Regions from separate parts of the Homo sapiens genome. Here regions 1, 2 and 3 are each linked to region 4. The links are contacts of gene promoters, found by promoter capture Hi-C in blood cells and fetal thymus (Javierre and others, 2016). All regions are on one chromosome and are shown on one strand. The core of a region is centred on a gene start or on the middle of the fragment in contact, and the rest is flanking DNA. Distances in the headings are between cores, read along the strand shown.

Region 1 (5,653 bases), core at 1,743-4,242, 1.1 Mb before region 4:
TCTTTCTTTCTTTCCATGACTACCTTTGGTATATATACATATATATATAAAGTACATTCAATGGATTTTGTTTTAAGTCTCTTGACCTTTTCTTTTCTTTATTTCTTTTTTTTTTTTTTTTTTGATGGGGTCTCACTCTGTTGCCCAGGCTGGAGTGCAGTGGTGTGACCTTGGCTCACTGACACCCCCGTCTCCCAGGTTCAAGTGATTCTCCTGCCTCAGCCTCCCAAGTAGCTGGGATTACAGGTGTGGGCCACCATGCCTGTCTAATTTTTTGTATTTTTAGTAGGGGTGGGGTTTTACCATTTGGCCAGGTTGGTCTCGAACTTCTGACCTCAGGTGATGGGCCCGCCTTGGCCTCCCAGATTTTTGGGATTACAGGGGTGAGCCACCACGCATGGCCTTGTGACCTTTTCCATTACAATCTTTTCATGCCTCATCTCACCCCCTGACCTTAGCTGCCAATCATCATGGTAAAACTTTATACTATGTTGTTGTGAATAACTGTACCATACTCAAAATCTCATCTTCTAACATCCAGTCACCAAACACCCCTTCTTCTGTTTTCAGCTAACTGCCTCTATGACAATTGTGGACTACTCTGGGGCTTCTAATCCATTGACTATTACAATTTTTAGTTTCCACTACCCTCTTTTATCCTCACTTCCTCCTTGTCCAGCTTAGATTCCATTGTTTAATTACTTGTAAATGCCCTCAGCTTTTTTGCCTCACTCTCTGCCTTACTCAAATGGCAGAACATCAATACTGGTTAATCCCAAGCACTCACAGAAATGTCACATAGTTTAGTGATTAAGGTTGTGGGTTCTGGACCCACGCTCCTTGAATCCTGAGTCGAACATTTACTAGCCATGTGGCTTGAGTAAGTTTCTTCACTGCTCTGTGCCTCAGTTTCCTCATGTATACCTATCTAATGGAGTTGTTGCGGGCTCAAACGTATTAATATAAAGTAATATAAAAATGAAGTGTTTAGAATAGTGCTTGGCACTTAATAAACATTTAATAAATGTTTACCAAGCTTGCAGTTCATGGTTGGAGAGGAACATCTAACTTAGCTGAGGGATCTCTCTTAATTTTCATGACTGTGTCTCAAGTGGGCCCTTAGTGCCTCTCTGCAGTTGTCAACCACAGTTTCCATTTTCTCACTGAATTATTTTTTCCCTGTCTGAGGTTACTATGTTACACTTTTTCTTATCAAATTTCCAACTTGTATTCCTTGTTCTTCACTCTCTGCTGATGACTTTGCTTCTTATCTTGCTGAGCAAACAGAAGCAATCAGAAGATAATGATATTTTCCCACCACCTAGTCTCTCACATCTGAATATTTCTATTACAGAGGAAGGGTCTCTGTCCCCATGTTAAAAACAATCCCTTTACTTGTGCACTGGATTCCATCTCTTTTCACCTTCTCAAGAATTTGCTGACATAATTATCTCTGTTCTGTCTTGCATAATCACTATATCTCTCTTCTCCCTGCTGTAATGTGCTGTAATATTGATCAAGGGAGAATAGAACCCTCGTTCGCTTTTATGTCCCCTATAGCTACCGATTTATTGACCACCCTTTACAGCCAACCTTAATGTCTCCACGGTCTCAGCCCATATCCTCATGACAAATCGAATCAGGCTTCCACCTTGATGGGATTCACCTTTGAATCTTTAAATATTGACTTTTAAGTAACAGAATGTTCCAGAGCTCAGTCCTTGGCTCTCTTGGGTTTGCTGAAATGACTGGAATTACTAAAATCAGGAGAAGTTAATTTCATAGGTTTAATAAGAGGCAATTAGAACTGTTGAGAAAAAGGGAAAAAGCATTATTTATAAGAAGGGGGAAAACATTTATGATCATTTTTATGCCAAATACTACTTTATATCAGATAATTTAATGCAAGCAATTCACTTATGATAAATTCAGTTCCACAGTATTTTGGGGACTGGCAGTGGTGGAAAGGAGATGGAGAGACTCAAAGAAAAAGAAGAAGAGGTCATGACAACATGGTTCTGAAACTGGTCAGGTTATTATCCTAATTTAAATATGGAAAATCAAGAGCTAAATCAATACAAGAACTAGAACCAGAATTCTTGGTGGTTCCAGGTCTTCTGTTAAGTTATTTGCCTCCCATATTGATATACAGTAAAGAATAAAGTGCGGCTAAATTATACATTTAAAAGGTATTCAAGTGGAAAATTGCTGGAAAGGGTAATAAAATAACAACCACAAAAATACAATTTTCCTTGGCATTTTCAACTTAATTACCTCAGAGCTGCTCAGATTTTCAGCCAGTCATTACTAGGATTTTTGCATTGGTACAATTAGATTTTCTTCTTGGAAACCCATTTTTGATGAAGAACAAACTGGAATATAGATGGATCATTATGTTTTATTATTAAAATTTCAAAGCTTACACTTTGAGAAAACTCATGATATTAAAATACCATAATAAAGTCGCTTAACCACCTTAGAGGTTTTTCTATATAACATCATGATTTGAGCATACTTTGTCTATTTAGATTTGAGTTTTGGTGAATATTGTAAAGGTTAGAAGTTTGGATATGCAGTTTATACTAAACCACTCTAAAAATATAGTGCTAATAATGATAGCTACTTTATTTTGAGCAACTACATACAATTAACTATTTATATCGGCTATAACTTTTATCCCTTACAATGACTTGATGAAGTGGTTTTATCATCCTTCACAGGAAGAAACCAAGATTCAAAGATATTTAATAATTTTTCCTTGGAAATTAGAAACATGCTCACATTCCTCTTACCTCCAAAGGAAAAGGAAAAGGAAACCGTTAAGTGTCAGATACTACTCCTGGATCTTTTGTGTAACTATCTTGTTTAATCCAAAGTAGGAGCTAAGAAATAGATTGTAATACAAGCTTTATAAGAAGCACTTTGTATTCCATGAGTACAAGTCTGAATGGCATTTTAAATTAGAGAGACTTGCAGTATGTTATAGTGACTTCCCCCATTTCAGCATCGCATTTTGTATGTGATACTTGAATCCTTGACCCTACAGAGAACTAAAAGAATTATTTCACATCAAGCTTTTTCCTCTTATCTAGTGACTGCTGAAACATTTCTTCTTTCCAAACCAGTTTATAAAACTGTTGGTCCTCACCTAAAAATAGAGTTGCTGTGAATTAGATTCTTGATCTGTATACATATGGCACAATCATATGAAATAGTTTTTTCCTGGCATACATTTCCTTTTTCAGCATTTAAGCACACAGCAAGTATAGGACATTTTGAACTTTTTATTTAACATTGATTTCTTTAGAGAGCTTTACATCCATTTGTTGTTTAAAAGTTGGTATTTTTGTTTCTTTTTGCAGCCAAACACTTTGATAATATTTTGAGGTAAATGCCTGAAGATGTCCAAAAAAAGTAAAAGTCATAACAGAAATTGGATTTCAAATGGTTCTTTGTTAAGAAATGACTTATAACAAATTCTCTCTCTGTGTTTGCTACTAACTATTCCACAATCAAGTGTTAATGTTTTAGGTAAAAAATAAAGTCAAGGGAGGGGTGTGAGTGGGAGCTAACGGTTGAGAGAGGGCCGAGCATGGTGACTCATACCTGTAATCCCAGCACTTTGGGAGGTCGAGGCAGGGGGATCACTTGAGGTCAGGAGTTCGACAACAGCCTGGCCAACATGGTGAAAGCCTGTCTCTACTAAAAATACAAAAAATAGCCAGGCGTGGTGGTGCGTGCCTGTAATCACAGCTACTCGGGAGGCTGAAGCAGGAGAATCACTTGAACCTGGGAGGCGGAGTTTGCGGCGAGCCAAAATCGCACCATTGCACTCCAGCCTGGGCAACAGAGTAAGGCCCTGTCTCAAAAGACAAACAAACAAACAAACAAGCAAGTTGAGAGGTCAGAAGCAAAGAGGAGAGAATTGAAAACAAATGCACCACACTGGGAGATTTAAGTCATCTTTGTGGGAAATTTTAATTTTTCTCCCTTTATTCTTTTTTGTTCTCTACCATGTTAGCAAGCTGCCTCTTTAGATTTTTATTTAAAGAAAGATTTTTTTTTAGAAAAAAAATCACACCAAGTTTCCACCTACAAATAAAAACATAGATATAAGATGGAGATAATTTTTCTTTTATCTGTTGCCCTTGTTTGATCAGGATATTTTATAAAAATAGATCCAGGACTGAAAAACTGCAAAACGAGAGCTTTGTAAGTGACAACCTTAGAAATAAATCAGTAACCCTGTTGTTCAGTGCTGGTCTGCTACATCTATGATTCTTATTCATGAACTTATTATTTTGGCTAAACACTACTGTAAGATATAATTGATTCAATTCAACAAACGTGTTGCTTGCTGAATTTCAGGTGGTTGGGATTAAGTATAGGGATGAATAAGACAGTTTTGGTTTTTTTTTACGTGTGGATATCATTTATTTTAGCATTTTTTTTGTTATACTTTAAGTTTTAGGGTACATGTGCACAACGTGCAGGCTTGTCACGCATGTATACATGTGCCATGTTGGTGTGCTGCACCCATCAACTTGTCATTTACATTAGGTATATCTCCCAATGCTATCCCTCCCCCATCCCCCCACCCCACAACAGTCCCCAGAGTGTGATGTTCCCCTTCCTGTGTCCAGGTGTTCTCATTGTTCAATTCCCACCTATGAGTGAGAACATGCAGTGTTTCGTTTTTTGTCCTTGCGATAGTTTGCTGAGAATGATGGTTTCAGCTTCATCCATGTCCCTACAAAGGACATGAACTCATCATTTTTCATGGCTGCATAGTATTCCATGGTGTATATGTGCCACATTTTCTTAATCCAGTCTATCATTGTTGGACATTTGGGTTGGTTCCAAGTCTTTGCTATTGTGAATAGTGCCACAATAAACATACGTGTGCACGTGACTTTATAGCAGCATGATTTATAATCCTTTGGGTATATACCCAGTAATGGGATGGCTGGGTCAAATGGTATTTCTAGTTCTAGATCCCTGAGGAATCGCCACACTGACTTCCACAATGCTTGAACTAGTTTACAGTCCTACCAACAGTGTAAAAGTGTTCCTATTTCTCCACCTCCTCTCCAGCACCTGTTGCTTCCTGTCTTTTTAATGATTGCCATTCTAACTGGTGTGAGATGGTATCTCATTGTGGTTTTGATTTGTATTTCTCTGATGGCCAGTGATGATGAGCATTTTTTCATGTGTCTTTTGGCTGCATAAATGTCTTCTTTTGAGAAGTGTCTGTTCATATCCTTCGCTGATAGTTTTGATTTCTCTTAGGAGAAGTAAATGGGTAAATAATTATTAATATTTATTCACAAGGAGTTTTATATTAGGTTATGAACCAAACGTTGTGGGAGCACAGAAGGAGAGGATGTTTAATTCTACCAAAGGGTCATTCTGTAATCTGTGCTTTTTTTAGTTCATATGGGATGCATAGTTGTCTGGAGAGTACTTTGAGAAATATGTTGGGCACTATTTACAATAGCAAAGTCATGGAATGAACCTAAATGCCCATCAATGGTAGACTGGATAATGAAAATGTGGTACATATACCCCATGGAATACTACTCAGCCATAAAAATGAATGAGATCATGTCCTTTGCAGCAACATGGATGGAGCTAGAGGCCATTATCCTAATTG
Region 2 (6,364 bases), core at 208-2,707, 1.7 Mb after region 4:
TTTGTTTGTTTGTTTATTTATTTATTTATTTGAGACGCAGTCTCTGTCACCCAGACGCAGTCTCTGTCACCCAGACTGGAGCGCAGTGGCACTCTCTCGGCTCACTACAGCCTCCACCTTCTGGGTTCAAGCGATTCTTCTGCCTCAGTCTCCTGAGTAGCTGGGACTACAGGCGCATGCCACCACACCTTGCTGATTTTTTATTTTTAGTAGAGATAGGGTTTCCCCATGTTTGCCAGGCTGGTCCCGAACTCCTGACCTCAGGTGATCTGCCTGCCTCAGACTCCCAAAGTGCTGAGATTACAGGCGTGAGCCACTGCGCCCGACTTGGAAACAATTTAGTTGAAAATTAAATAGTAGTGATTTGGCAGTATCATGGGAATGGCCTCCTTTAATGTGTCCGTAAGCATCTTTGCTTTTCTTGCACAGTCACAGGGAGGGTATACATGCCTTGAAGTTGCATTACTGCTTTGCAGCAGCACTTCATTCATACTGTCAAATATTTATGCTGAATATGCCTAAATTTATCACTGACTTTTTTTTTTTTTTTTCAATTTGAGATGGAGTCTCGCTCTGTCACTTAGGCTGGAGTGCAGTGGCATGATCTCGGCTCAAGGCAAGCTCCGCCTCCCGGGTTCACGCCATTCTCCTGCCTCAGCCTCCCAAGTAGCTGGGACTACAGGCGCCTGCCACCACGCCCAGATAATTTTTTGTATTTTTAGTAGAGACAGGGTTTCACCGCACCGTGTTAGCCAGGATGGTCTCGATCTCCTGACCTTGTGATCCGCTTTTTTTTTTTTTTTTTTTTTTGAAACAGATGCTCTGTCGCCCAGGCGGGAGTGCAATGACGCGATCTCAGCTCACTTTAACCTCTGCCTCCTGAGTTCAAGCGATTCTCCTGCCTTAGCCTCCCAAGTAGCTGGGAGTACAGGTGCATGCCACCAAGCCTGGCTAATTTTTTGTGTTTTTAGTAGAGACAGGGTTTCACTGTGTTAGCCAGGATGGTCTCGATCTCCTGACTTTGTGATCCTTCTGCCTCGGCCTCCCAAAGTGCTGGGATTACAGGCGTGAGCCACTGCGCCTGGCCTAATTTTTGTATTTTTAGTAGAGATGAGGTTTCACCATGTTGGTCAGGCTCATCTCGTATCACTGACTCTTTGGTAAGTTTTGCATAGTTTTCACTGAAGCCTCCTATCTTGGACATTTTGAAATGAAAATTACTTTTTCTAGTTTAACTTAAAAGTACAACCAGGCATGGTGGCTCGTACCTGTAATCCTAGCAGGGAGGCAAAGGTGGGTGGATTGCTTGAACCCAGAAGTTCTAGACCAGCCTTGGCAAAACACTCTCTCAACAACAACAAAAATACAAAAAATTACCTGGGCATAGTGGTGTGCGCCTGTGGTCCCAGCTACTCCAGAGGTTGAGGTGGGAGGATTGCTTGAGCCCAGGAGGTTGAGGCTGCAATGAACCGTGTTCGCACCACTGAACTCCAGCCTGGGCGACTTGTGTGTGTGTGTGTTTGTTTGTATGTATGTATGTATGTATGTATGTATGTATGTATAAAAAACCTCCTGTAATTGGTTTTAAGTAAACTTCAAGTTTGACAAATGTTATTATGCCGAGTGTTGTTTTATCACATGTAAATACATGTAACCACCCCCAAAATTAGGATTAGGATACAGAATTGTTTCATCACCGCAAAGGTACCTTGTGCTACCCCTTGGTCAGTTGTAGACAAGCTACCTAGAGCTAGATGCTTTATGCCTTATTAAACTTGAGGATGAGCCATAGTAACATTTTATTTCAGTTTGATCCACAGTGAAAAAGTTCCCTTTTAGGACTTCAGTGCTTTTGAATGTCAGTATGGGTATAGTGAAGACATACCCACCTAACTCATATTAATGCTTTGCCTCATTAAAATTATTTAATAGAGTTACCTCTTTGAATGTTGGATGTTTAATATTCTGCTTTCAACAGTTTTAAGCAACTAATAGCCAGAACCTGGATAACTACCTTTACTTTTCCAGTATTTTCAAACTTTAATTTTTCTTTTTGGCCTAAAAGTGCAAGTGCTGTCTTCAGATGAGTTGCTTTTGCTAATTTATCTTATTGCTTCTAATAAGCCACTGATATGTCATAAGTTCTCAGTGTGAGTTTCTACTCTTTATCTAAATCTCCCAAACCAGTTTTTCAAAATGGGAGAATAGATATTTGGGAGTTAAAAAACTATAAACAAATTACTTCATTCCTTACAGCAATACCTAAGTGTTTTATGATTTTTTAATGGTATGCAGCATATGTATTCACTAGTGCATGTGTTCTTATATTTCCAGTAAAGAAAGAAAAACATCTTTCCTATATACTATGTGTTTTTTGACATTGAATTATGATCAATAAATTTACCTATAACTTGATTTTTCCTATCCAATTTTGACTGCATTAAACCTTTGTGAAGTAAATCATTACCCCCCAAAGAAACCCTGTATCCAGTAACAGTAACTCCCACCTTGCACTCCTCAGTCCCCCAGTCATGAGCAACCACGAGTCTACTTTCTGTCTGCCTGTTTGGGGCATTTTACATAAAGGAATCACACAGTATGTGGCCTTTTGAATCTGGCTTTCTTTTTGGCATAATATTTCAAGGTTTATCCACTGTAGCGTGTATCACTATATTTCATTCCTTTTTATGGACAAATAATAGTCCATTGTATGGATATACCACATTTTGCTCATTATTTGGTGGACATTTGAGTTCTTTCATACTTTTTGGCTATTATGAATAATGCTGCTCTGAGCATTCATGGACAGTTTTTCTGTGAACATGTTTTCAGTTCTCTTGAGTATATACTGAGGAATTTAATTGGTGAGTCATGGTTGCACAACTCTGAATATACGAAAAACCATTGAATTACACACTTTAAAAGGGAATTATGCTTGTATTATTCTGCTTTGCTTTGTAACAACCCCATACATCTAAACAGTTTACAATAGCAAGCATTTATTTCTTGCACACATTACATGTCTATGGCTATGACTTTGCTTGATATATCTTCTCATCCTGGGATCCAAGCTAAAGGAGCAATCCATACATTGGATATGCCTGGTCTTGTGGTAGTGGATGAGCAAGAAGCCAGATTGAACAACACAGTCCCATTTGAAGCTTCTACTTTGATGCCACAGTATCATGTCTTTTTATATTATTTTGGCCAAAGCAAGTCACTTGAATAAGGTCAAAGTCAATAAATGATGCAGGGATATATGCCTCCCTTATCAGGCAGGCAAGGCCCATGGTAATGAATAGGGTTGTATAATCCTTTTACAGTTAAATGTGGGGAGTGAATAACTGAACAGTAATACAGTCTACTACACAAATAGAGATTGCCAGTTAAGGAGAAAGAAAGACTAATTGATGCAAGAAGGTCTTTAAGGACTCCTGAGAAGAAGATGGGCAACAAGGGGAAGCATATGGAGTTGGTAATAGGTATGAGACTAGCTAAGGGGAAGACAATTAATTTATATTTCTACTAATCAGCATAGTCATGTCATTAACTGTTCTTCAGTATTCATCTGAGAATGTGAATGAACAGCTCAGTTTCAACTGAAGATTGTGCTGAAAAGGTACGGTGAAAGAAGAAGGTGGAAGTTTGCAGGTATAGGAACATGAATGGATGAACCATATGATGTAGTCTGAGTAGGGAGGGAAATGGGTAAAGCAGGGAGCTTATACTTAGGAAGCATGTGATTGGAGGGCTGAGTGATTTCCACACATGTAATGGGATATAAATAATAAGCCTGGGCAACAAAGCAAAACTTTGTCTCTACAAAAAATTTTTTAAAAATTAGGCTTGGTGGCACATGCTTATAGTCCTAGATACTTGGGGACTGAGGCAGGACGATAGCTTGAGCCCAGGAGATTGAGGCTGTAGTGAGCTGTGTTTGTACCACTGCACTCCACCCTGAGCGACAGAGCAAGACCCTGTCTCAGAAAAAAGAACCATAATTATTAGATCAGAGACTAGTCTGAGATGAGGTATTGGATTGCAGTTTCTGACAGGGTCCAGGATTTGTCATTTTTTTACTTTTTCTTCTCTCTCTCTTTTTTTTTCTTTTGTCAGAGAGGGTCTCACTCTGTTGCCCAGACCTGGTGTGCATTGGCATGATCACAATTCACTGTAGCCTCAAACTCCTGGGCTCAAACTATCCTCCTAACTCAGCCTCCCGAGTAACTGGGACTACAGGCACACACCACCATGCCTGGCTAATTTTTTTTTTATTCTTTGTAGAGATGGGGTTTTGCCATGTTGCCCAGGCTGGTGTTGAACTCCTGGGCTCAAGCGATCCACCCACGTCGGCCTCCTAAAGTGCTGGGATTACAGGTGTGAGCCACTGTGCCCGGCCAGCATTTGCCATTTTTCACTGAAGGGAAAAGGAGGTAAGAGTTACTGGATTTAAAGAATTGTGTAACCTGGGTGTTGGTTAGGTCTCTCACCTTGCAGTATCTGAAATGACATTCTGTTACTCCCCACTAGACAGTATGATCCATGTCCATTTTACTCACTATAGTGTTGCCAGTGTTTGGCCTGTGTAGGTAGTCATTCAGTAGAAAATTTATTGATTTACCAAATGAATGGTTAGAGGAAAGTAGGATTTGGTACTGAGACGAGGACTGTGAACCGGATGCTAGTTTTCTGTGAGTTGGGGAGGAACCAGTAGGTTGGTAGATCAGAATGGTGTGGCATTGTGGCTCTTTTACATGGCTAGCAGTTGATGCTGGCTTTTGACTAGGAGCTCAGTGGAGGCTGTTGATCTGCATTCTCTCAAGTGGCTTCTGCATGTGCCTTGGGCTTCTTACAACGTGAAGATCAGGTTCAAAGAGTGTTCCAAGAAATAGGATGTGGAGCTCTTAAGGGAAGGGCCTGGACATTGGTACAGTATTATATTCAGTATTCTATTTGTCAAAGCAATCACAGAGCCCACTTAGATTCTGGATAAGGGGAGTTAGATCCTACTTGGTTGGTTGGTTGGTTGGTTTTTTGAGACAGAGTCTTTCTCTGTCACCCATGCTGGAGTGCAATGGAATGATCTTGGCTCACTGAAACCTCCGCCTCCTGGGTTCAAGCGATTCTCCTGCCTCAGCCTCCTGAGTAGCTGGGATTACAGGCAACCGCCACCACACCTGACTGATTTTTTTTATTAGAGATGGGGCTTCACCATGTTGGCCAGGCCATTCTCAAACTCCTGACCTCAAGTGATCCGCCTACCTTGGCCTCCCAAAGTGCTGGGATTAGAGGCATGAACCACTGCGTGCAGCAGATCCTACTTATTAATAGAAGTGTCAGATGTGTGATCATCCTTAATCCACCATACTTGGCACCTAGTTTGGTACTAGCAGAAGTGTAGGGCTCTTGGTGTGGCTCAAAGCTTCACAAAATTTAAACTCGTTACTGAGTTGTTCAATATGTTGGTCTTGTTGAATTTAATTCTCATGTCTGTGGCTTCGTCATCTTGCATCAACTTAAAAAAAAAAACAAAACAAAAACATTGCCCCCAAATACAGTTTAATTGTAATACTGCAAGAGGGTCTTTTGAGTTAGAAGCTCCCTGGTGGATATTTCCTGAGAACAGGGAGTTTGAGGTGTGCTCTCTAGCTCACGTGGGCGTTTTCTTGAGACTAACGAAGATCAAGTAGTTTCAGCAACTTCTGCATGTTGGCAACATACACGTTAACTTTTCTAGTCAAATATTTGTAGGAAGATATTTTTGAAATATGGGGTAGTAAAGATACGAAAATGTTAATAGTGGTGGGTAATTTGTTTCTTAGGCTTTAAAAAATTTTCTAAACGGTACTTAATAAAATGTATTGATTGAAGTATTCGTAGAAACACAAATTTTCAAAATTTAATCATTTTTAAGTTGGAGTAAACAGGATTATCATAAGAGAAATGATCAGTACTGCGATAAAAAAATTTCAAGCTGACTCTAGTTATTCCTTGATACACAATGTTTCTCATTCAGGTCTGATTTTAAGACTTATCTGCGGATATTGGTGAAAAATTCAGCTTTTTAGGCCACTTCTCTGGGGAGTCTTGATTAACTGGGTATGGGATAGGATCCTATATCTGTATTTTTAACAAGTGACCTGAGGACCAGGCAGGTTTGGAAAACAACACATAACTGATTTGTTTTGTAACTTAAAGTACAAGTTGAGGCTGCAAATGGTATTGTTAAATATATATAATTTTAATTAATTTTATAGAAAAATTGAATTTGTTTTTGAGATTTCTATTTCCATGTTTCACTGTTGTAGAGTTTGACAGGGGATATGGAATAACCTGATTAGTTATCGTCTTCGTAGAACAAAGG
Region 3 (5,618 bases), core at 1,384-3,883, 1.5 Mb after region 4:
GGTTGTAATTTGTCAACCTCCAATCTAAATAATTACGCACGTCCTGAAAGTTTTCAAGCACAATTTATTAAAGAAGAAAGAGGCTACCTACAGCTTCATATTTCCCACAGAATATCAAGAAAGGTACGGACTTTTTCACCCCATCTTTTACCAATATCTTAAAATTTTTGTGCTTTAAAAGTTTAATTGTATTTTGGAAAGAAAAATTAAATAATGATAGAAATGTTTTGGCTGGTTCATATTTTGTTCTCTACCAGAGATCTGACAAAAAGCCTTTCTTAAAATATGTTGCATAGAACACTAATCCACAAAATATTAGTATTTCCCATTCTACTACAAAACATAAAAGGGGGTTCTGTGAGTAAATAACTTTGAGAAACACATTTACTTAGAGTTCCACATCTCAGATTACTCCTTAATGGCAGATACAGATTCAACAATTAATTCATCTACTTATATATGGCCTTTTGACCTTATTATAATTAACCTCTCTGAGCTTCATTTTCCTAACCTCTCCAGACATAGCAATTCTGACATGAATGGTATCTATATTACAATTTCAGGTTTTAGTCTTTTCATCATCAGTTATCTCATTTTTAACCTTACATGAATACATGGACTCTCAAGCTTTAAAATATTTTATATAACTGAGACAATTTGGGGAGGACAGCAATCAATTCTTATTATAACGCATATCATGATAAATTCAGGTGAATTGAAAAGCTAAATGTTTGGATGGAAAAGACAGAATAAAAAGATCCCCCACCCACCCAAAACAACTGTAAGAAAAAAAAATTTGTAAGTATGCAGGAAGAGCCATTTTGTATCAAAATACCAAGTATAAACTATATACAGAAAGGCCTCTAAGGTGAAAATTAGAATTAGATTTAAAGTACATTTCCAATTAAAAGAGAAAATTTCAACATCAATGCCAGTCTTAAATATTAATATTTAATAATTTATTTTTGGCTGGGCACAGTAGCTCACACATGTAATCCTACCACTTCGGGAGGCCGAGGCGGGATGGATCACTTGAGTTCAAGGAGTTCGACACCAGCCTGGCCAACATGGTGAAACACTGTGTCTATTAAAAATACAAAAATTAGCCGGGCATGGTGGTGCACACCTGTAGTCCCAGCTGCTCGGGAGGCTGAGGCAGGAGAATGGCTTGAATCCAGGAGGCGGAGGTTACAGTGAGCCAAGATCACGCCACTGTACTCCAGCCTGGAGGAACAGAGCGAGACTCTGTTTCAAAAACTTAATAATAATAATGATTTACTTTTAATCTTTTAATGAATGCTAGCAAAACCACTAAGAATAAGATGAACACACTAATAAAAAACAGACAAACGATACGAAGATAATTCAATGGAAGATAGACGAAAAATATCACCTCACTAAATATTAATATTTAAGATAACAAAGTTAAAATAAGTTTTCTCTATTAAATAGGCAAATGATCTCCTCTAATCAGTTACTGTGCCAAAGAATTACATCTAGGAAAGGGTTTTGTTTAGATATAAGGTAAGACATAAGGTTGCTTAGTTTGACCTTTCCATGGTGTCTTAATTAAAAAAAAAAAGAAACTAAGACTTTGATTTTTCATTTTTACCTGATTTATCATAAATTGTGTTTTTATACTAGGGGATAAAAATTTAACAGAAATAGGACTCAACTGTTTTGTAAAACTAACATCATGTGCACTAGTACCTAAGAGTATTCACAGAGTACTCACCATTATTCATAGTAGCTGTATATGTACCTCTGTTAGTGTTGGAAGGAAAATTAAACAGTAATAAACATCAAGATACCCTTTCTCATTTACGGATTAGTGGAATTCTTTTATAATCTCTCCTTTTTTCCCTGAGATAGAAACTCTCATGGTTGACATTTGAAAACTAGTGCAAACTATGTTCAACAGTTAATTGTGATGAGAAGAATGAGAAAGAATTAAAAGCATTCTGCAACATTTTGTGAAACTGAGCCTAAAAAAGCCAGGTATTTACAGACATGAATGTATGGCTGTGTACAGAGAGAGAAAAAAAACTTGTTCATGAAGATAAGAAAGGCGTTCTGACAGTCATATTTGCAGTCCTATCTAATATTTTATCTCTGTGTGGACCCTAGAAGTTTAACCTTGATTTATGGGCCAGAGTAGTATTTCCCTTTTTAGGACCATTAAATCCCTAGTGATTTCTAGCCAAACCCAAGTGTTGCATATTATTCATGATAAAGCTTAAGGAGACACTTAATCTTTAAAAATATTCACTCAGCCTCCAGGAAAGTTCTAAAACCTGTGTTTAAAATGCCAACTCACTGGGGCACGGTGGCTCAGGCCTGTGATTCCAGCACTTTGGGAGGCTGAGGCAGGCAAATTGCTTGAGCCTAGGAGTTAGAGACCAGCCTGGGCAACACAGGGACAGGGAAACCCTGTCTCAAAAAAACAAAAACAAAAACAAAAACAAAAAAAAACAAGAAAGGCCAGGTGCAGGCTCACACCTGTAATCCCAGCACTTTGGGAGCCGAGGAGGGCAGATCACCTGAGTTCAGGAGTTCCAGACCAGCCTGGCCAACATGGTGAAACCCCGTCTCTACTAAAAATACAAAAATTAGCCAGGCATGGTGGCGTACGCCTGTAATCCCAACTACTCAGGAGGCTGAGGCAAGAGAATCACTTGAACCTGGGAGGTGAAAGCTGCCGTGAGCCGAGATCGCACCACTGCACTCCAGCCTGGGCGACAGAGTGAGACTCTGTCTCAAAAAAAAAAAAAAAAAAAAAGTGTCCGGTACTAGTGGTTAGCTGTAAAAACCACTCAGTATCAACTAGTATAATTTTCTTTGTGCAAGTATCATCTCGATTTTAAGGATTTTTTTGTTGTTTTATCCATAACCCTGAAGCATGCTAAATAGAGAAACAGTATATTAAAGTCTGGACATATTTTTAATACTGTTCCATAAATCACCAGGTAAAAACTGCAAGTAAGACAAAGGTCCATTTACCATGGAGAGAAAACTTACAACAAAAGCTTTCAAAACTATAGGTTTCTAGCTATGTTGGAAATGAAGGTATCAACATATATGATACAATGCATTCAATACAATGAACTATACGATGAATCAAAAAGGGCCTTTGAAGAAATATAAATAACAATACAACCAGGATTATGAGGCCTCCAAAAAACACATCTGACGAAACTGATGCTTTTTATTATCAAAGAGTACACAGCCTGAGAGTTAGGACAGTGTCTTTGGCTATATCGCAAACACTCCAGCTATACTGGCTGGCATATAAAAGACGCAAAGTCATCAGGAGAATGGAGGAAGGGAAGAACTAACACCCCATAAGGCACTGTCTCTCAAAATGTGGTCCTTGAACCATCTGTGATTGCAGATTACTTTAGATGCTTATTTGAAAAGCAGATTTTTGAAGCTCAGATTCTCCTGTTAATACAAATCCCCAAGGTAATTCCCGCCCCTCACATCAGTCAAACCAGGTAAGCGGTGATAGAACCCTCAGTGTCAGCAGACATATGTTCACCGGTTATGAGTAAAATTCGACAAAGTGGGAGAAAGGGATACAAGGGAAGGGAAGAATGGGGAGATGGAAAGCATTTACTTCTTATTCTGAACCTCATTTTTCTCTCCTTCCCACATCCAAATATACACAAATATTCATATAAAATATTGGCTACTTCCTTTCTAGTCAATAGGGACTTCCAAAAAGAATTACGATTTCAAGAATTATTTTGAGAAAGCAGCCAGGTAATTAGCAAGGCAAGCTTAAGAATAAGTGAAGTACAACCTCAAATATCTTTTATTTTAAATGTGGAAACGGAAAACCACAGACACTGCGACTTAAGCTGAGGAATTTTCCATATCACCTCTTCTTCTATCCTATCAAAAAATCAAACACCTGTCTGCCTGCTTGAGTTCAGATTAGAAGTTTGGTGGTCAAGTTCAAGGCTGTTTCCACAAAATCACATGTTTACAGTTAAAAGCATTCTAGAAAAAGTAGAACAAACGAAAGTATTCCAGGCATAAGATATGGACTAAGAGATCTTCCAACTAGAACTTTGTTTGTTTTTTTAAGGCGGAGTCTCCCTCTGTCGCCCACGCTGGGGTGCAACAGCACGCCTTCGCCTGCAAACTCCGCCTCCCAGGTCCAAGTGATTCTCGTGCCTCAGCCTTCCGAGCAGCTGGGATTACAGGAGCATGCCACCATACCCAGATAATTTTTGTACTTTTAGTAGAGATGGGGTTTCCCCATGTTGGCCAAGCTGGTCTCAAACTCCTGACCTCAGGTGATCCACCCACCTCGGGCTCCCAAAGTGCTTAGATTACAAGCATGAGCCACCTGCCTGGCCTTTTTAAAAATTTTTTGAGACAGAGTCTCACTCTGTCACCCAGGGTGGAGTGCAATGGTGTGATCACAGCTCACTGCAGCCTCAACCTCCCAGGCTCAAGCAATTCTCCCACATCAGCTTCCAAAGGTACCAAGCGCATGCCACCACATCCAACTTATTTTTTAATTTTTTTTGTAGAAATGGGGTCGCCTTATGTTGCCCAGGCTGGTCTCGAACTTCTGGGCTGAAGCTATCCTCCCACTTCAGCCTCCCAAAGTACTGGGATTACAGGTGTGAGCCACCACACCCAGCCCCTAGCATTTAAAAGTAAAGTATATTGGCCACTTGATGACACTCTTGTTCCATATTTTTCAACATTATATAATACTTCAAATCAGTTCCATCCTAAGATTTATTACTATTATTATTTTATTTTGAGACAGAGTTTTGCTCTTGTTGCCCAAGCTGGAGTACAGTGGTGCAATCTTGGCTCACTGCAACCTCCGCTTCCCAGGTTCAAGCAATTCTCATGCCTCAGTCTCCTGAGTAGCTGGGACTACAGGCACGTGCCACCATGCCTGGCTAATTTTTGTATTTTTAGTAGAGACAGGGTTTTGCCATGTTGGCCAGGCTGGTCTCAAACTCCTGGCCTCAAGCGATCTGCCCACCTCAGCCTCCCAAAATGCTGGGATTACAGGTGTGAGCCACTGAGCCCGACCGCTAAGGTTTATTATAAGATCTCATAACTACAGGGGGAAAAAATGACCTGAAAACAACCTCATTCTAAGTCACTAACTCTTGGTAGAGTATAGCATGTTTCTTTGATACAAAATGAAATAAATCCTGATATATTCTGAATTTCATCTATAAGTATGTTTTGAAAAAATAGACAATATAATCATTGTGTAAATACAGAAACAAGACGAGCAGGTGATGACACACTTGAAATGTAGATAACTTCACCAGGCATGCCCAAATATGAAAGTGATCACTTTCAGAGCGGGGCAGGGCAGTGGGGAGTGGGCATCAGGGAAAATGACAGAAAACTTGACACATTCTCTTTTCTTCCATTAGCTGTTATTTAATCTAGTTGCTTCCAATGATTCCACGCTTCCATTAGTAAAACACATTTGAATATAAACCACTAATACACGTATACTAGATTTATAAAGTATGTTCCACAGCATGAAACACATAACAAAATGAAAAAAAAATAGCTAGAGTATAAAGTTCCACTGCCAGTAATAGGCCTGTGGAAGATGGTGTGAATGCAAG
Region 4 (6,095 bases), core at 3,596-6,095:
AAAACATCTTTACAATCAGTATGATCATTTGGTGTATCTACTGTTAATTTAAATGCAGGCTTGAGGCTGTTCAAATGGACTATGTTACACAGGGCACATAGTCTGCAAAACCTTTCCATTTTTAAAAATTCATTTCTATAACCACAGATGAGAATGAGCTTTTATCTTAGCTCCTGGCTCACTATAGTGAAATTATCTATGTATGTGTTTGTCTCCCTCACTTGATCATAAGCTCCTCAGAGAAGTGGCTGTTTACTGCCAGGGCACAGCACAATACTGGGCTCATACTGGGTGATCAGTAGGCATCTACTGGATGAGCTGAGTGGTACACTCACAAAGAGAAGCTCCCTCATTGTTTAGGTGAGATGAGAAGGTGGAGCAACCTGCCATTCAACTTCCGCTAAGGCAAACAAAGCGAAGAGAAGCAGTGGAGTCCAAGGACTGCATTGATGACGTGGCCAGTAACAATACTAATGCACCCCCCCTCAACTCCCTCTCATTTCAGCACGAGGTGTTAAATTAATATTTCTAAGGCTAACATTTATTAAGCACATACTATATACCAGATACTATGCTGATGAGCTTTACAAGCATCTCTTAAATTTCATAGCAACCCAATGAAGAAAATATTATTTTCCTCATTTTACAAATATTGCAACAGAGACTTAGAGTTCCGTACCTTGTAAAGAATAACAAAATTAATTTATATCAGAGCCACAATTTAAATCCAAGCCACCTGGCTTCAACACTCCATGCAATGCCTTCCACACACAAGGACATAAATTCTAAAATCTTACCCTTTACGTTAGTTAGAAAAATAAAGCCATCTGATATTAAAAAAAAAAATCACAGTACTTCTATTTTGTGCAAAGGCACAAAGGAAACCGCCTGGGGCTGATGTAGAGATGTATCACTAGTTCTGTGTGGCTGGAACACTGGGTGCTTGGGGTTATCCTGTGAGAGTTAAGGATAATTTGGAGCCAGTCCAACAAAGATTATCCAAAAGTGTTGGTCTGTATTTTACTGAAAATAGAGAATTATCAAAAGTTTCAGAGCAAAAGAGTGCTGATCATCATATAAAAGTGATGATGTACAGATTTGTTAATTCCATAATAACATTCATTCATTCATTTGTTCAACATTTACCAGTTGCCTATTTTTTGCCAGGCACTGGCCTATGTGCTAGGGTAACTACCAGACAAAGTCCTGTTGCCATGCATCTGATAGTTTCTTTGAGGGAAACAGATATTAAACAGATAAAAACTAAACACAGTATTTAAGAAAGTTCAAAGAGAAAATTAAAGCAAGGAAAAGTTAACAGGGAGTGTCAGGTGTGAGGGAAGTTGAAGACCTCATTATAAGGTGACATTAGAAGACAGGCATGAAAGAAGGGAGAGAAGACAGCAGCTATCTAGGGAAAGTGTGATCCAGATAGAGGGAACAAAACTTGGAAAGGCCATTGTTGGGTGCACATTTAGAGCAAATTAAGGATCGTTAAGGAGGGCAGTATGACTGGATGGGGAGCAGGTGCAGGGGAGTATGAAAGAGATTAGGTACAGAAGGTAGCATCTGATCATGAGCAGGCCTTGAAGCCCTCGTATGTGGGCTTTCACCCTGAGTGGGACAGGAAGCAGAGGAGGGACACAATCTGACTTATATGACAGAAAGGCCTGTCTGTTTCCTGGTTGAAAATATTTTGTAAGAAAGGAGGGCAAGGAACAGAAGCAGGGAAGCTACTGAGGAAGCCGTTGCCAAAGATGCAGCAACTTGGACCAAGCAGAGAGAAATTAAGGCAGTTTAAACAACTCTGGTTCTGGACACATTCAAAAATAACTAATAAAATTTACTAATACATTGGATGTAGATGTGACCTAGGCAAAATCCAGAATGGAACTGCCATTTCCTGAGATAGAAAATGCATTTCCTGAGATGGAAAATGCATTTCCTGAGATGAAGAGGGATGCAGTAGATATAGACAGCAAACTTGTAATTAACACTTTTTAGTGCTTTTAGGGGTTGGGCTCTTGGAAATCACTATCCATGTATTCTCTCAATTATTCCTGATACCTGCCATTTGGATTTACCAGTGAAGAAACAGAAATTCAGAGAGGTTATGATCTGTCCAGGGTCATAAAGCTACCAGCTGACAGAAACAGGCACGACTACCTCTATATAACCCCAAAGTTATTACTCTTAGTTACCATTGTGTGAAGTATAAAACACAGAATAAAATTCCAATGGGAAGGAAGTAAGAGTAAGTACTAAGTGATGACTTGAATCTAGTAGGCCCTCTATAGATATTTGCTGATGGATGAATAAATGAATAAACAGATGTATGGATAACACGTAACAGACCAGCCTGGGTGAGGGAAAAAAAAAAAAAAAAAACTGGAAGACTCCATTCCAGAGAGAGTAGAGTCTGGATAATACATATCCAAATCTGCAAAAGGATAAATGGAAGAAAGGTGAAAAACCAAATATATGGAATGTCCTCAAAGAGCTACAAACTTTCAAAAGCAATCTCAGGTGGCAAAACATCATTTCTGTTTTTGTCTATTAGTGGTATGGGGATGTGGGGGTGGGGAGAGGCAGAGCCCACAAGGGGTATGAAAAGTCTTATACTTACTTTCCAACCTACCTGGTCTCACACACACACATATGTACACATACACACAGACCAGTCCTGAGGTAATGACAGGTCTGAGTACATTATCTTAAATTGTTAGATAAAAAGGCAGGAAAAGATTATACATAGCATTTTACATAATGCAAGTGCCTAATACAGGTTAAAAAAAAAACACAAATAGCAATAATAACAGAAATAAAGTTAGAACTTCTTACTTTTAGTCTAATACAAAAGACCACAGGGGCTTTTAAATAAAAAGCAACCTTTTAAGTCAATCAATAAAACCACCATAAGTGGTTCTGATAGATTCCAGGATAATATTTGTGGTACCTTAGCTAATTTAGAGGTTTACATCTATAAATCACTTCCTAGATTTTCTCTTCACATTGTCTCAACCTTTAAGTGATTTTTCTTCCCTTGTTCCTATCCTGCAGTCCTTGGGTAAACAAATTGCTTAATCAATGCAAGTTTTTAAAACAGCAACTCCAAAAGCAAAGTAGGTCTAGGGGTCCTCTGAACAGAGAAAACTCTCCATTGAAATGGCAAAATATTTATGAGCCGGAGCACATTATAAAATTAAAATATAATCACTACTATATCCTTTAAAAATGTTTAGACCTCCTTTTCAGTGATTTGTTTGCAATAAGGAATTGCCAGCCCGGAGCAGTGGCTCACACCTGTAATGTCCGCATTTCTGGAGGCCAAGGCGGGCGGATCACGAAGTCAAGAGTTCGAGACCAGCCTGACCAACATGGTGAAACCCCATCTCTACTAAAAATACAAAAATTAGCCAGGCATGGTGGCGCGCGCCTGTAATCCCAGCTACTCAGGAGGCCGAGGCAGGAGAATCCCTTGAACCCGGGAGGCGGAGGTTGCAGTGAGCTGGAAATCATGGCACTGCACTCCAGCCTGAGCGACAGAGCCCGACTCCATGAAAGAAAGAAAGACAGAAATTAAAGAAAAGAAAAGAAATTGCCATGATCATATTCCAAACACAATGCCAAAGAAAAACACATTTAATGAATTAAATAGAATTCATGTGAAAAGTTTATTTTTTAATGACAGCTTAAAGAAACTTAGATAAAACTGACAAGAGCCAGTTTCTCATCACACGGATCAGATGGAGGGTGGAATAGGAGGGATAAATGCCTGAGACAAAATGTCAAAATCCATAATTACTTTTAAACTATAAAGACTTGGGGGATAAAAGAAAGTATATCCATGGTCAAATGTCAATACTTTACAAAAAAAAATGGGGTTTACAGGGATTCAACTACTTTTATATTCAATAAATTGGAAGACCTTGTTTCTGAAGCCAAAACAAAACCCTGTAGCTTCCTAGAAGTCCTTCCTTGGATTTCAGACAATACATCATTTATAATTGGGGGCAATACATACCCTTATATTCAACATACTTTTACTCATTTTTTTTCCTTTTTGGTTCCTGATAAGCATGTGATGTTTACTCCCGTGTCTCTCTCTCTCTCACACACGCACACCCACACACACATACACATACTTCATTGTTCCACAGAGGGTAGAACACACTTGTGGGCCTGTGGCATTTTCAAAAATAGGAATGAAAAAAAATAGTTTTATTTAGTCACGATGAAGTTAGCAAACACCCAAACACCCAAGTCTTTGTTTTTTTCCCAAGAACAACACCTACGAACTGCAACCTGTTAATTTAATTAAGAAAAATAGGGCTTTTACTCAGTTCCTAGGCTAGGAATCGCTGAAGCAAGGAAAGTTCAAGGTCTGCTCTCCCGCCGTATCTCTGCACACACACTGGAGCCGGGAGTTTGAGGACTCCCACCAAGAGCCTTTCGCCCGGGAGTCTCCTCTGCCCTTAGCCAGAGGGCTGGCGCGTCCCCCCTCCCTCCTTGACACTTCACCCTGCCTCTTTGGCTGCCATCCCCAGGAAGGCAGGAGCAGAGGCGCCGGAGAATTCGGGGGCCGGGCCGGGGTTCCGCGGCTGCTTCCGCACTCGCGGGCAGTGACGAGGTGGCAGCCGGGACACGGGCGGCAGGGCCGGGAGGGCTCCGCTGCGGCTGGACCGAACGGCTGGGGAGGCTCGCCCAACGCCCGGGCCCACGTACTCACCCGAAGGGTCGCGCGGGGCGCGGGGCGACTGCACACGGGATTCGCGGTCGAGCACAGCCCTCGGCGCGCCGGCGGCCTCGCTGGGAAGCGCGGCGAGACGGGCCGGCGGCGTCGCTGCCGCTGCTGCTGTCACGGAGCTATAAATACCGGCTCGGCCCACACCCGCCGCCGCCTACGCCGGGCGCCCTCCGCGCCGGTGCTTCACCGCGCCGCGCTCCCGCCGCAAAGTCCGCGGCCGCGGGCCGGGCAACGCGAGCGCAAGGGCACCGGCGCCGCGCAGGTGACCGCGATCATGCCAGCTGTGTGCAACCTCTGCAGCTGGAGGCATGGCTTCTCCCCGCCCCTGCCCTCTCGCCCGCACCACGGGCTGACTCCAGCCCGCGGGCCGCGTGCGCCACGGGCCGAGCCTGCCCGGGCCGGCCCGCCTCTGCAGAGCGGCAGCTGCAGGCGAGGGACGGACTCAGGAACCTGGTGGGGGTTGGGGGGCGGCTGACAGAAAATCCACCATCCTGCAGGGAACCAATGAGGGTCCCACTGGAATGTCCTCGAAGAGCTACAAACTTTCGAAAGCAATCTCAGGTCGCAAAACATGATTTCTGTTTTTGTCTGTTGGTGGTGTGGGGATGTGGGGGTGGGGAGAGGCAGAGCCCATGAGGAGTATGAGAAGTCTTCCACTTACTTTCCAACCTGCCTGGTATCACACACACACACACACATATGCACACATACACACATTCATACACACATAGAGATGCACAAATACACTCATGCATACATATGTATACACACATAAGCACACGTATACACATGCATACACACATATGTACATCAGCACACATACTCATGTACAATTTTTAAAGTTTTTGCAGTCTGAGGCTCTCCGGAGCCTGTCATTCTATGATACCTAAATGATACCTCTGCGGCATAGGGCAGGAAGACCCTTTGACTACATCTGACCAATTCCTCTCTTCCTGAATGTAACCTCCTTTCCATCATGTATGTGTGGCCTCTGTTTCCTTCCACACCTAATAGCAACTGCTACCTCAGTTTACCGGTTGCTGAAAACGTGTTAACAGCTGCTATCCAGCATGCTAATATTTTGTGGTAATGGAAGTTATCACTAGTGTATATAATCAAATGGAAAATAGGATTTCTATATGCCCATATTAGCAAACTTATGAAGGCAGAGCTAGGCCCTCCCCTGTACTGGTAGCCTGATTCAGGAATGGGTGGATGGCAAGAGGGAGAACTGAGATGTCCGCGGATTTTAAGATGGGATGGAGAGAGCCATGCCCAAGTGCCATAGGGTAGTTTATCTGCATAGGCATAATTGGGAATTCACTGCCATACTTCCCACTAATTTGAC

Evidence for each region. Contacts are between HindIII fragments. The CHiCAGO score rates a contact against its expected background, and 5 or more counts as called.
Region 1: a contact is called between a fragment that was not itself captured here and the fragment with the promoter of TMEM117 in region 4, in 1 of 17 cell types (M2 macrophages). The highest score is 5.6, in M2 macrophages.
Region 2: a contact is called between a fragment that was not itself captured here and the fragment with the promoter of TMEM117 in region 4, in 1 of 17 cell types (M2 macrophages). The highest score is 5.1, in M2 macrophages.
Region 3: a fragment that was not itself captured here is called in contact with the fragment with the promoter of TMEM117 in region 4 in 1 of 17 cell types (M0 macrophages); the score reaches 5.1 in M0 macrophages.

Annotation. Positions count from the first base shown.
Region 1 is chr12:44,938,918-44,944,570 of GRCh38, reverse strand. No RefSeq gene overlaps it. Among named protein-coding and RNA genes, the nearest start is that of NELL2, 65 kb to the right of the region's middle. The HindIII fragment of the contact is 168 bases long and covers 2,909-3,076 here.
Region 2 is chr12:42,131,950-42,138,313 of GRCh38, reverse strand. All of the region lies in intron 1 of GXYLT1 (glucoside xylosyltransferase 1), which reads left to right. Among named protein-coding and RNA genes, the nearest start is that of GXYLT1, 9.7 kb to the left of the region's middle. The HindIII fragment of the contact is 3,412 bases long and covers 1-3,163 here.
Region 3 is chr12:42,363,386-42,369,003 of GRCh38, reverse strand. All of the region lies in intron 4 of PPHLN1 (periphilin 1), which reads right to left. Among named protein-coding and RNA genes, the nearest start is that of PPHLN1, 40 kb to the right of the region's middle. The HindIII fragment of the contact is 791 bases long and covers 2,238-3,028 here.
Region 4 is chr12:43,834,831-43,840,925 of GRCh38, reverse strand. TMEM117 (transmembrane protein 117) reads right to left here and starts at 4,845. Exons shown (of 8, transcript NM_032256.3): 1 at 4,730-4,845. RefSeq lists silencers at 4,372-4,604, 4,591-5,030, 5,061-5,170. The HindIII fragment of the contact is 19,666 bases long and covers 1-6,095 here.